2 separate regions of the Homo sapiens genome follow, and region 1 is linked to region 2. Evidence: promoter capture Hi-C in 16 types of primary human blood cells and fetal thymus (Javierre and others, 2016). All regions are on one chromosome and are shown on one strand. The core of a region is centred on a gene start or on the middle of the fragment in contact, and the rest is flanking DNA. Distances in the headings are between cores, read along the strand shown.

Region 1 (6,875 bases), core at 3,059-5,558, 260 kb after region 2:
CGATCTCGGCTTACTGCAACTTCAGCCTCCCGGGTTCAGGTAATTCTCCTGAGTACTCGTCCTCCCGAGTAGCCGGGACTACAGGTGTGTGCCACGCCTGGTTAATTTTTTGTATTATTAGTGGAGAGAGGGTTTCACCACATTGGCCACGCTGGTCCCAAACTCCTGACTTCAAGTGATCCACCTGCCTTGGCCTCCCAAAGTGCTGGGATTACAGGCATGAGCCACCATGCCCAGGTAGGCCATTTCTTTCTCAGAAGTTAAGAAATCTTCAACTTCTCATACTTTTACGCTTTGTCTACTCATTCTTTTCTGTGATAGGACCCGTTGGTTTCTTCTTTAAAAGTTCCTGTTTTGGGCCAGGTGTGGTGGCTCACGCCTATAATCTCAGCACTTTGGGAGGCTGAGGCGGGCAGATCACATGAGGTCATGAGTTTGAGACCAGCCTGGCCAACATGGTGAAACCCCATCGCTACAAAAATACAACTATTAGCTGGGCGTGGTGGCGCACTCCTGTAGTCCCAGCTACTAGGGAGGCTGAGGCAGGAGAATCGCTTGAACCCAGGGGCCGAAGGTTGCAATGAGCCAAGATCGTGCCGCTGAACTCCAGCTGGGGTGAGAGAGCAAGACTCTGTCTCAAAAAAAAAAAAAAAAAAAAAAAAAAGGCCTGGCACGGTGGCTCACGTCTGTAATCCCAGAACTTTGGGAGGCCGAGGTGGGAGGATCACCTGATGTCAGGAGTTCGAGACCAGCATGGCCAACATGCTGAAACCCTGTCTCTACTAAAAATGCAAAAATTAGCTGGGCTTGGTGGTAGGTGCCTGTAATCCCAGCTACTCGGGAGGCTGAGGCAGGAGAATCGCTTGAACTTGGGAGGCGGAAGTTGCAGTGAGCCGAGATTGTTCTATTGCACTCCAGCCTGAGTGACAAGAGTGAAAGTCTTTCTCAAAAAAAAAAAAAAACAAAAAACAAAAACAAGCTCCTTGTTTTGATGTGTGCTTTTTGTTCTATTCCTCAACTTTCCTTCCATGGTAATATTCTTTGTGTTCACCATCAGTTTATAATTTTCATAGAATCAGTTTGTAGTAAACTATGTAAAATTTTGACGCTATATCCTTATTATTGCCAAATTTTTGATATACAATCTTCAAATCTGTCTTTGTGTTTGTTTTTTGTTACCGTGTTTAATTTGAAAACAAATACAGGGGCCGGGTGTGGTGGCTAATGCCTGTAATCCCAGCACTTTGAGGGGCTGAGGCGTGTGGATCACGAGGTCAGGAGTTTGAGACTAGCTTGGCCAACATGGTGAAATCTCGTCTCTACTAAAAATACAAAAATTAGCTGGGCGTTGTGGCATGTGCCTGTAGTCCCAGCTACTCAGGAGGCTGAGGCAGGAGAATCACTTGAACCTGAGAGGCAGAGGTTGCAGTGAGCTGAGACCACGCCATTGCACTCCAGCCTGGGCAACAGAGTGAGACACCGTCTCAAGAAAAAAAGAAAACAAGTACAAATGATCCCTCTCATTTTCAGCTCCATCTGTCTACCCTGTATGTCTCCAAACCCTTACATTTCTTTTTCTCTTCAGCTTCAGAATGGAAAGTGCAACTTAAAACCAAAGAGTTAGCCCTTCAGCAGGATGTTTTGGGGGAGCCAACCTCCAGTGGGATTCAAATGGTAAGATTAACAAGGATACGTCTTAGTTTTCACATTTAGAGATGATTGGGGATTCCATTATAGAAAATCAGAATAAAGCTGGGAATGGTGGCTCACACCTGTAATCCCAGCACTTTGGGAGGCTGAAGTGGGAGGATCACTTGAGGCCAGGAGTTCTAGACCAGCCTGGTCAACGTAGCAAGATCTTGGCGCTAAAAACTAAATTTAATTACATTAAAAGAAAAAGAAAATTAGCAGAATGAGAGCTCTTTGAGATAAGTAGCATTCCCAAAAGGGATAATGACTCTGGAGAGAGACTCAGAATACGATGACCTGGGGATGCTTGAAATCTAGCTTGACACTTATTGTTGTTTTTTTCTTAGACAGAGTCTTGGTCTGTCACCCAGGCTGGAATGCAGTGGCATGATCTTGGCTCACTGCAACCTCCACCTCCTGGGTTCAAGCGATTCTTGTGCCTCACCCTGCTGAGTAGCTGGGAGTACAGGCACGTGCCACCATGCCCGGCTAGTTTTTGTACTTTTAGTAGAGACAGGGTTTCACCATGTTGGCCAGACTGGTCTTGAACTCTTGACCTGAGGTGATCTGCCCACGTTGGCCTCCCAAAGCACTGGGATTACAGGCGTGAGCCACTGCGCCCAGCCAACACTTAGGTGTTTTAGAGTTCCCCTCAAGTACACATTTGTAACTAGATAGTGAGTTTTTAAGACAATTTCATAAAACTCTACAGACATTTGAGATTAGAGTAGATGGCACAGCCTGGCAGGAGTTTTTTGTCATTCCGCTGGAAAGAAATCAAAAGGGCATTACTTATATGTGTGTAATGAAAATGGTAAACATGATAATAATCATCACAGTGTTCCTCTCTTCAGATGAGTGGAATCTGTTAATCAATCTGAACCGTCCTTTAATCATCATTCATTCCTTTATCAACAGATAGGAAGCCACAACGGAGGGGAGGTCAGTGATGTTAAGCAATGTGGAGATGTCTCCAGTGAACACTCATGCCTTAAGACACATGTGAGAACTCAAAATAGTGAGAACACATTTGAGTGTTATCTGTATGGAGTAGACTTCCTTACTCTGCACAAGAAAACCTCTACTGGAGAGCAACGTTCTGTATTTAGTCAGTGTGGAAAAGCCTTCAGCCTGAACCCAGATGTTGTTTGCCAGAGAACGTGCACAGGAGAGAAAGCTTTTGATTGCAGTGACTCTGGGAAATCCTTCATTAATCATTCACACCTTCAGGGACATTTAAGAACTCACAATGGAGAAAGTCTCCATGAATGGAAGGAATGTGGGAGAGGCTTTATTCACTCCACAGACCTTGCTGTGCGTATACAAACTCACAGGTCAGAAAAACCCTACAAATGTAAGGAATGTGGAAAAGGATTTAGATATTCTGCATACCTTAATATTCACATGGGAACCCACACTGGAGACAATCCCTATGAGTGTAAGGAGTGTGGGAAAGCCTTCACCAGGTCTTGTCAACTTACTCAGCACAGAAAAACTCACACTGGAGAGAAACCTTATAAATGTAAGGATTGTGGGAGAGCCTTCACTGTTTCCTCTTGCTTAAGTCAACATATGAAAATCCATGTGGGTGAGAAGCCTTATGAATGCAAGGAATGTGGGATAGCCTTCACTAGATCTTCTCAACTTACTGAACATTTAAAAACTCACACTGCAAAGGATCCCTTTGAATGTAAGATATGTGGAAAATCCTTTAGAAATTCCTCATGCCTCAGTGATCACTTTCGAATTCACACTGGAATAAAACCCTATAAATGTAAGGATTGTGGGAAAGCCTTCACTCAGAACTCAGACCTTACTAAGCATGCACGAACTCACAGTGGAGAGAGGCCCTATGAATGTAAGGAATGTGGAAAGGCCTTTGCCAGATCCTCTCGCCTTAGTGAACATACAAGAACTCACACTGGAGAGAAGCCTTTTGAATGTGTCAAATGTGGGAAAGCCTTTGCTATTTCTTCAAATCTTAGTGGACATTTGAGAATTCACACTGGAGAGAAGCCCTTTGAGTGCCTGGAATGTGGTAAAGCATTTACGCATTCCTCCAGTCTTAATAATCACATGCGGACCCACAGCGCCAAAAAACCATTCACGTGTATGGAATGTGGCAAAGCTTTTAAGTTTCCCACGTGTGTTAACCTTCACATGCGGATCCACACTGGAGAAAAACCCTACAAATGTAAACAGTGTGGGAAATCCTTCAGTTACTCCAATTCGTTTCAGTTACATGAACGAACTCACACTGGAGAGAAACCCTATGAATGTAAGGAGTGCGGGAAAGCCTTCAGTTCTTCCAGTTCCTTTCGAAATCATGAAAGAAGGCATGCGGATGAGAGACTGTCAGCATAAGGAATGTGGGAAAACCTAAAGGTGTCCCTGTTCTCTCTGAAGACATGAAAACTCACTGGGGAGAAACCCTATGAATGTAAAAATGTGGAAGCAACTTTGTATCTCAGGTCTTAATGAACACATATGAATTCACAGTGGAGAAGACCCTGCATCAGGGAATGTGGAAATGACTTTGCTGAATTCTCAAGCCTTACCAAACACATCAGAAATCTCACTGGAGAGAAACTGTATGAATGTAGAGAATCTGGGAATACCTTTCTGAATCCCACAAACCTTAATGTGTGTATGTGAACTCACATTGGAGAGAAACCCTGCAATTTAAATGGTATGGTCTGGATGATGCCCCACTCCATATTTGTAAGCCCTAAGTCCTAGTTCCTTACACTATAACTGTATTTGGACATAGGGTTTTCAAACAGGTGAGTAACTTCAAATGAGGTTGTTGGGTTCGATCCCTAATCTGACATCACTGGTGTCCCTATAAGGGAAACTGAAGGAAGGATACACATGGAGAAGACTGTGTGGATCCACCAGAAGATGGCCATCTACAAGCCAAGGACAGAGACCTGGAACAGATGCTTTCATTATGGCCTCCAGAGGAAACCAACCCTGTCTCCACCTTGATATTGCACTTCCAGGCTCCAGAACTGTGAGGCAATAAATTTCTCTTGGTTAAATCATTCAGTCTGTTATTTTGTACAGCAACCCTAGGAAACTAATACTGTGAGGAACTTGGGAAAAGCTTTAGATCAAGCTTGTCCAACCCGCAGGCCAGGATGGCTTTGAATGCAGACCAACACAAATTTTTAAGCTTTCTTCAAACATAATAAAATTTTTTTGTGATTATTTTTTCCGTTCATTAGCTATCATTAGTGTTAGTGTAAACACAAAAGCAATCACAGGAGAGACGTTCTATGAATGTAGGACATGTGAAGAAGTCTGTAAGTGCTCATCAGATCTTAATACTCACTTCCAACTCTTGTGGTGATAGGCCCTGTGAAAATCAAAGACCATCAAGAAGAGAAAGTTTCTTTTACTATGAAAGTCATAAATGTGACTTCACCCAACATTTAGTGACTTAGAGTGGACTGAGGCTCCATTATTAGTAATGTGGAGAGATTTCATTAAATGTTTATACCTTACATGAGAAATAAAAATTCACAGTGTAGAGAACACTTCTGCTGTAAGGCACGTGGGAAAGCTTTTACTAATTCCACGAGGCTCATTTTACATATCTAAAATTAGACTGCAAGTGAGCCAAGACCCCTACACTCCATCCTGGGTGACAAAGCAAGACTCTGTCTCAAAAAAAATAAAATAAAATTAGACTGCAAATGTCCTGGGAATGTAGGGGAATGTATGGCAACCTTTAAATATCTCACATGCCATAATGTTAACATGAAATCTCACATTGGAGGAAGAACCTGTGTATCCCAGGGATATGGTGTCACCTTATTTCATTGCTCAAGCCTTAATATCTTTGTGAGAATTCACACTGGGGTAAAACCCTGTGATTATAAAAAGGATGCAGGAAGTACTTCATTTGCTTCTCATATCTTACTGTATCACAGTTCATAGCCATGTGAATGTAAGAAATATGGGAAAGCTGTCAGAATCTCTTCACAACCCAGCAGGAAGTAACTTGCAATGAGACCACACAGTCTGTGAAACATGGAAAGCCCTTTGCTGTTATCTCAGGGATTGCTTAAGTAAGGTTTTGCAGTAGAGAGAAATCCTATTAGTGTAAGAGGTTTTGGAGAGTGGTAGTTCAGCTAAATAATGTTGACTTCTCAGATTGGAAAACTCTGACCAATTGAAAATGTTTTATTACTCTTTTAAAATATCCGTGTTCACCTGGTGCAGTGGCTCAGAGCTGTAATCTCAGCACTTTGAGAGGCTGAGGTGAGTGGATTGCTTGAGCTCAGGAGTTCAAGACCAGCCTGGGTAACCTGGTGAAACCCCGCCTCTACAAAAAAGACAAAACTTAGCTGGGCATGGTGGCTTATGCCTATAGTCCCTGCTACCCAGGAGGCTGAGGCAGGAGAATCATTTTAGCCCAGAAGGAGGTTGCAGTGAGCTGAGATTGTGCCACTGCACTCTAGCCTGGGTGACAGAGTCAGACGCTGTCTCAAAACAAAAAATCCATGTTTCAGAGCAGTTTTAGGTTCACAGCAAAATAGTGTGGAAGGTTCAAAGACATCCTATATTCCTGCGGCCACTACATATGCATAGCTTCCACCATCATCAACATACTCCACCAGAGTAATACATTTGTTAGAATTCATGAACCTGCATTGCCACTTCATTATCACCCAAAGTCCACAGATCATCGGTCCTCCCACTATTCCTCCCTCCCTCTCCCCAGCCCGACAACCACTCATCTTTTTACTGTCTCCATAGTTTCGCCTTTTTCAGAATGTCATAGAGTTGGAATTGTGCAGTACGTAACTTTTCAGATTGGCCCAAAGTGATAACTTCACATCCTTCTTTTCCAGTTCAAATGTTGCCTTTTTCAAAACCACTCATGGCCTGCCCCGCCCTCATCCTGTGCCCATAAAAACCGCAGGCTCCACTAACAGAGTAGAAGAGGGTGGGGGCTTTAGTTCTGTCTCTAGAGCAAAGCCCACAGTTATTGGTTAATGAATGCGTTAAGGCACCCACACCTTCCACCAATGTTGAGCTGTGTTCACCCCATGGTGACTTTTGGGGCAGTGGATTGCAGGGTGGGTCTGGAGTGCCATGTGACTGCTCTGCAGGACTTGGAGACTGGTGAAATTTCTGCACAGGTGGCTTCTGGAGCTCCTGGACAAGGCGCACCTTTC
Region 2 (7,561 bases), core at 97-2,596:
CGCGGTGGCTCACGCCTGTAATCCCAGCACTTTGGGAGGCCGAGGCGGGTGGATCATGAGGTCAGGAGATGGGGATCATCTTGGCTAACACCGTGAAACCCCGTCTCTACTAAGAATACAAAAAAATTAGCTGGTTGTGGTCGCGGGCGCCTGTAGTCCCAGCTACTTAGGAGGCTAGGCAGGAGAATGGTGTGAACCCAGGAGGCGGAGCTTGCAGTGAGCCGAGATTGCACCACTGCACTCCAGCCTGGGGGACAGAGAGAGACTCCGTCTCAAAAAAAAAAAAAAAAGAAAAAGAAAAAGAAAAAATAAAGGCCTACAGAAAGAATGACTGAATGGAAGAGACAGACCATGCCATCTATCACTGGCAGGTTTAATATGGAAGAATCATGGAAAGGCTCCAGGAACATGAGGAGCGGCATACAAAAAAGCTTGACACACACACACACACACACACACACACACACACACACACATATATATATATTTTTTCTTTTTGAGATGAAGTCACGCTCTTGTCCCCCAGATTGGAGTGCAGTGGCGCAACCTCGGCTCACCGCAACCTCCGCCTCCCGGGTTCAAGCGATTCTCCTGCCTCAGCCTCCTGAGTAGCTGGGATTACAAGCGCCTGCCACCACACCCAGCTATTTTTTTGTATTTTTAGTAGAGACGGGGTTTCAGCATGTTGGCCAGGCTGGTGTCAAACTCCCGACCTCAGGTGATCCGCCCGCCTTGGCTTCCCAAAGTGCAGGGATTACAGGCGTGAACCACTGGCGCTTGGCCTTATATATATATTTTAATAGAGACAGGGTCGAGCCGGGCACAGGCCTGGGCAACAAGAGTGAAACTCTGTCTCAAAAAAAAAAAAAAAAAAAAAAAGAAAAGAAAAAAAAAGACACACGGTCTTGCTATTTCACTCAGGCTGGTCTGGAACTCTTGGACTCAAGCTATCCACCTGCCTTAGCCTCCCAAAGTGCTGGAATTACAGGCGTGAGCCACTGAGCCCGCCCAGGATAAGCTTTGGAGGAGCATCCTCTGGGGTGCGTCCCATCCCCCATCCCCGCCTTTCCAACCCGTCTGGGCACCTGAAACGCGGGCTAGGCCGGGTCCCACCTCTAAACCGCCCCCAAATATGGGCCCCACCCCTCGCCCACGGTTCCGTCCAGAGGTCCGGTTCTAAACTCATCTTTTTCTCTGAACCCGTTTCTGCATCCCGCTCCCTGAGCCAACCCCAGGCACTGTCCGGCACCCACCCAGGAGGAAACTAGAATTTCTTTGTCCTACGTGCCTGAAACTCAAGCCCTGGAGCCCCACCCGGCCGGAGGCTCGGAGCGGAAGTGACGTCAGTGTGCCACCGCCATCTTTACCGGCTGTGGCTCAGCATGGTCAGTGCCGTTTAACCTTTATTGTGGTGGAGTCCACCCCGCTGTGGTGAGTTCTACCTGCTTGGGGGTCCGGGACATACCAGCGGGGCGGCAAAGGAAGGATTGGGCGTGGTCGCCCAGGAGCCTCTCAGATCCGCCTAGTTTCACTCGCTTTTCTAGGGGCTGTCAGTCCTCCTGGTGCGGCCTCTGGCCAGTTCCGAGAGGCCGCACAGTCCGTCTGGCTGCGTCGGGAAGTGTGTTTGTTCCGCCTCCGCCGGGTGTTTTCTTGAGTACTTTCATCCGCTGTGCTCCTCTCTTGAAAAGCTTGGAAAGCAACCTTTGGGAGTTTTTTTCTTTCCGAAAGGAAAAGGATTTCTGCCCTTCTGGTGAGGTTGGCTCTGGCCCCGCATTCTCCCGCGTCTGGAACCTATCTCTTCCGGCATGTTCCTGGTGAGCAACGGCGGAAAAATGGTTTCAAGAGGGCTGTGACTTCCATTTATTTGCTAAAAAATGTCTCATCTGAGAATCTGGCGTTGTCTTGATGTCCTTTACTTTTTTTTTTTTTTTGATTTGGAGTCTTACTCTGTCGCCCACGCTGGAGTGCAGTGGCACGATGTTGGCTCACTGCAACTTTCACCTCCCGGGTTCAAGTGATTGTTAGATATGAGTTTTAAATTTCTTTTTAAAAAATCAATATGTCAGTATGTTTAATTCTTTGCCTTCTACTTTTAAACTTCTCCGTAAAGCAACCTTTTTCGATCACCTGCTCCACCCTGACTCATTCTGATTACCTGCTCCACCCAGACTTATTTCGATTACTTACTCCACCCTGACTCATTTTCCACCCTGACTCATTCCAATTTCCTGCTCTGTTATAACCATTTTCCCCAACAAACCACTCACCCTGTCACTCTCTTTAAATTAGCCAATTGGAATTAGTTTAGCCTGTGGGGTCTAACCCTAGCCATCGGGGAAGGACAAAGCGGCAGGGGCCACTTTCCTCAAGAATAAGAACCCCTTCCCCTCCCTTGTCCTGGTGTGTGCTCACCATTGCTCCATCTGTGAGGGCACACCCTTCTGTAGAAGTAAATTGCCTTGCTGAGAAAAGAAAATGTTATATTTGAGTGCTTTTTTTTTGTGGCATGAAAACTTTATAACATGATTCACCTGCCTCAGCCTCCCGAGTAGCTGGGATTCCAGGCGTGCACCACCACACCTGGCTAATTTTTTATATTTTTGGTAGAGATGGGGTTTCACCATGTTGGCCAGGCTGGTCTCGAACTCCTGACCTCAAGTGATCCACCCGCCACTTATTTTTGACACATTACATTCAGATGGAAAAAACATAGTTGTTTAGGGTGTGCCCGTTTTTGTATGTAAATATGAACGCGTGTAGACTAAGCCTTTAGTTTTTAATTTTTATTTTCTTGCAGGTTATTTTTTTTCTAATTGTTACCAGCTGCAAGCCTTTCTACTTAAAGCCAGGCCAGATGCACTGGCTCACACCTGTAATCACAGCACTTTGGGAGGCAGAGGCAGGCGGATCACCTGAGGTCAGGAGATCCAGACTAGCCTAGCCAACATGGTAAAACCCTGTCTCTACTAAAAATACAAAAATTAGCCGGGCTTGGTGGTGGGCCCCTGTAATCCCAGCTGTTGGAGATAAAAAAATAAAACGCTGGGTGCTGCAAAGTGAAACCAGCACTCAGGCAAAAGTTTTCTCAGCAACGCAATTTATTTCTATAGAAGGGTGAGTCTCGTGGATGGAGTGATGGCGAGAGTACACCAGATAAGGGAGGGGAAGGGGTTTTTATTTCTAACGCTGGGTCCCTACTTCTGTGTCTCTCCCCCGTGGGTTAGGGTCAGACCGCAGAATCTAAACTGACCCTATTGGCTATCTGTGAATATTTTCCCCAAATAAGGAAGGGTAGGGGGATGTGTGAGTCATGATGGTGGGATGTGCAGTTTCAAAGAGTGGAATAGCTGCAGAATGAGTAGCCAAGGGAACAGATGTGAGTTATTGATTAGAGCTGATGGGAAGGTTGTTTACAGTAACTAGAGGCAAGGAGGCATGGAGAACAGGAAAGTTGAGTTTGAGAACAAAGAACAAGGAAGTTTACAGGCTGAACTTTTGAAGAGAAATTCAGAGAAATATATTGTATCTTACACAGCTACTCCGGAGGCTGAGGCAAGAGAATCACTTTAACCCGGGAGGCGGAGGTTGCATTGAGCCGAGATCCCGCCACTGCCCTCCAGCCTGGGTGACAAGAGCGAAACTGTCTAAAAAAAAAAAAAAAAAAAAAAGAAAGGCAATAATACTCAACTATTCTCTTCATCTGAAGTTCTTAGGTCTGTACTTCCCCACAGTGCTTCAAAACAGAGGCCTCCAGGAACCAGGAAGAAAGAATGGAGGCTTTATTACACTGACACTAGAATTATTTACTATTATAATCAGAATAGTATTCTAGTATCAGTGTAATAAAATATCTAGTATCTGTATAATTTATTAAGAGCATGTTTGGACTAAGTGTAGTTTTTACATTTTTTTCTGAAAAATTTGATCCTAAGGAAAACTTGAACATCTAACACACCCAGTCTAGTAGATTTACTTAATTTTTTAGCATTTTATTTCTTTCTCCTCATGTAAATCTTACAGTGAACAATTTGAGTGTAAATTGAGCATAAATTGTACATGTGATGCTTGACCTTTAAATACTTTGTAATGCACCTCCTAAAAATAGGCATTGTCATACTAAAACCACAATACTAGTATTTCACTTAAATTAAAAATAATAATGTCATCTAATGTCTACTTTCCGTAATAACTAAAATTCTCCTCATTGATTCAACGTATGCTCTTGGGTGTTTTTGGATCTAAGATCCATTCAAGATTTTTGCATTGCAATTGTCAGTGTCTTCAGTGTCTTTTTGCCTATAACAGTTATTACTGTCCATTATATTGACTTTCAGAGAGTCACACTCATTCTCTTAGAAAGTCATACAATCAGATATTTCTGATTGGATTCTCATGGTGTGTGTAAATATTCCTTTATTTCATGCGATTTCCTACAAACTTGGAATTGGGTCCAGAGGAGAGGCTGACAACAGTTGTTTGATAATGGGTGACAGTATGTACTTCATGCTTTGGGGACCAGAAAGTCTCAAATTACTCAGTTCAGCCTTAGTTACTTCATGTCCCATGACTAGTTGTTCATTCTCTGTCATGTGCTAGTGGCAAACCACAACCTGTTTCTCAAGAGAAAAACAGTTAATCTGCACAAGAGGGCATGGATTGACTCTGCAATACCAGAGGGCTGTACTCTACATCTTCTGTTGGTGCATGCCGGAGGCTTCCAATAAATAACATGCCATTTAACATGGACACGTTGAGTATCACTGGGTCTGCTGGATCAGGTGGACCAAGTGCTTAGGAAGCTTGCATTGCAGCCTGAAATTGCTCTTGTCTACAGTTGAAACTAGAATCCTTACAGGTAACTGTGTGGGGCGTTAAAGTACATGCAAATGTATGTGTTGCCTCCAAAATTCAAGAGGTCTATGGATGGTAGTTTTTGAGAAACCTCCATGCTGGGTTTTTTTTCTTTTTTTGAGACAAAGTCTTGCTGGATCACCCAGGCTGGAGAGCAATGGCATAATCATGGCTCATTGCTCCTTGTTAATGGTAGGTGGTATTAGGTGCAGTAACTTGGAGTGACATCTTGGAGGGATGTCTTTACATGATCCAGACAAGGGAATATCTTTACCCACAGACATGGTGGCCCCAGAATCTCCCACTCCCTATTTTACAATCCAGAAAAATTTTTTTGATTCATAATAGATGAACATATTTTCAGAGTACATGTGATAATTTGATACATTCACATAATCAGGGTAAGTAGCATACCTGTCACCTTAAATATTTATCTTTTCTATATTGTAGGAACATCGTTATTCTCTTAGCTGTGTTGAAATGTATGATAGATGCGTATTAAGTGTAGTCACCCTACTGATCTATTGAATACCAGTTCTTATTTCTTCTAACTGTATATTTTACCGATGAATCAACCTCTTTTTTTTTTTTTTTTGGGAGATGGAGTCTCACCGTCACCCAGGCTAGAATGCAGTGGCATGATCTTGGCTCACTGCAACCTCTGCCTCCTCCCGGATTCAAGTGATTCTCCTGCCTCAGCCTCCCGAGTAGCTAGGATTAAGGGGTGCACCACCACACCCGGCTAATTTTTGTAGTTTTAGTAGAGACGGGGTTTTACCATATTGGACAGGTTGGTCTCGAACTCCTGATCTCACATAATCAGGGTGATCTGCCCGCCTTGGCCTCCTAAAGTGCTGGGATTACAGGCATGAGCCACCTCACTCAGCCTAATCAACCTCTCTTTATCTCCGTCTCCTTCCTACCCTTCTGGCCTCTAGTAACCATCAATCTGTACTCTATGCTCATGAGATCCACTTTTTAGCTCCCACATGTGAGAATATGGGGTATTTGTCTGCTGTGCTTGGCTTATTTCACTTCCATGATGACCTCCAGTTCTATCCAGTTGCTGCAAATGACAGAATTCCATTCTCTTTATGGCTGAATAATAATCTGCTGTCTATATATACCATATTTTCTTTATTCATTCTTTCATTGTTAGACACTTAGGTTGATTCCATATTTTGGCTATTATGAGTAGTGCTGCGGTAAACAAGGGAATGTATATATATCTTTTCAAATATATTGATTTCCTTTCTTTTGGATATATACCCAATGGGATTCCAGATCATATGGTAGTTCTATTTTTAATTTTTTGAGAAACCCCCATACTGTTTTTTTTGTTTTGTTTTGTTTTTTTTGAGATAGTCTTGCTGTGTCACCCAGGCTAGAGTGCCATGGCATAATCATGGCTCACTGCAGCCTTGACTTCCTGGGCTCAGGTGATCCTCCCACCTCAGCTTCCTGAGTAGCCAGGACTACAGGCCTCCACTAATACACCTGGCTAAGTTTTTTTGTTTGTTTCTTTGATTTTTTGAGACAGAGTCTCACTCTGTCACTCAGGCTGGGGTGCAGTGGCACGATCTTGGTTCACTGCAACGTCCGCCTCCTGGGTTCAAGCAATTCTCTTACCTCAGCCTCTGGAGTAGCTGGGACTACAGGTGCACGCCACCATGCCCAGCTAATTTTTGTATTTTCAGTAGAGACAGAGTTTCACCATGTTGACCAGGCTGGTCTCAAACTCCTGACCTCAAATGATCTGCCTGCCTTGGCCTCCTAAAGAGCTGGGATTACAGGCATGAGCTACTGTCCCTGACTGGTTGTGTGTGTGTGTGTGTGTGTGTGTGTGTGTGTGTGTGTGTGCGCGCGCGCGCGCGCGCTCGCGCGCGTGCATGCAGACAGGTCTTGCCAGTTTCAGACAGGTTTTGTGCGTGCATGTGTGTACAGACAGGTGTTGCTGTGTTGCCTAGCCTGGTCTGGAACTCCTGGGCTCAAGTGATCTCCCACCGCAGCCTCAAGTTTTGGGATTAAAGGCCTGAGCCACCACACCTGAATATTGTTCTCTACAGTGGCTGTACTAATTTATATTCCCACCAACTGCATACAAGGATTATCTTTTCACCATATCCTCATCAGCATTTGTTATTCCCTGTCTTTTTTATAAAAGCCACTCTAAATGAGGTGAGATGATATCTCATTGTGGTTATGTGTGATTTGTATTTCTCTGATGATTAGTGATGTTGAGCATTTTTTTGTATGCCTGTTGGCCATTTGTATGTCTTTTTTTTGAGAAACATCTATTCTGACCTTTTGCTGATTTTTTTATCGGATTTTTTTTGTTATCAAGTTTGAGTTCCTTATATATTCTGATTATTAATCCCAGGTGGATAGTTTGTAAATATTTTCTCCCATACTGTAGATTGTTTCTTCACTTTGTTGATTGTTTCTTTTGCTGTGGAGAAGCTTTTTAGCTTGATGTAATCTCATATGTTTGTTTTTGCTCTTGTTGCCTGTGCTTTTGAGATCTTCCCAAGAAATCTTTACCCAGACCAATGCCCTGGATTGTTTCCCAAGGGTCTTCCTCTACTAGTTTTATAGTTTCAGGTGTTAGATGTAAGTCTTTAATCTGTTTTGACTTTTTTTTTTTATGCTGAGAGATGGCATCTAGTTTTATTCTGCATATGGTTATCCAGTTTTCCCAGCAGCATTTATT

The links. The method cuts DNA at HindIII sites, captures the fragments that hold promoters and counts their contacts. A CHiCAGO score of 5 or more calls a contact.
Region 1: a contact is called between a fragment that was not itself captured here and the fragment with the promoter of ZNF562 in region 2, in 1 of 17 cell types (erythroblasts). The highest score is 5.8, in erythroblasts.

Annotation. Positions count from the first base shown.
Region 1 is chr19:9,410,453-9,417,327 of GRCh38, reverse strand. It overlaps ZNF266 (zinc finger protein 266), which reads left to right. Exons shown (of 11, transcript NM_001370374.1): 10 at 1,586-1,674; 11 at 2,608-4,899. The coding sequence ends at 4,053. Among named protein-coding and RNA genes, the nearest start is that of ZNF266, 22 kb to the left of the region's middle. The HindIII fragment of the contact is 978 bases long and covers 3,820-4,797 here.
Region 2 is chr19:9,668,885-9,676,445 of GRCh38, reverse strand. ZNF562 (zinc finger protein 562) reads left to right here and starts at 1,346. Exons shown (of 6, transcript NM_001130031.2): 1 at 1,346-1,431. RefSeq lists enhancers at 140-1,139, 1,402-1,461, 1,140-1,639, 1,178-2,377. The HindIII fragment of the contact is 670 bases long and covers 1,021-1,690 here.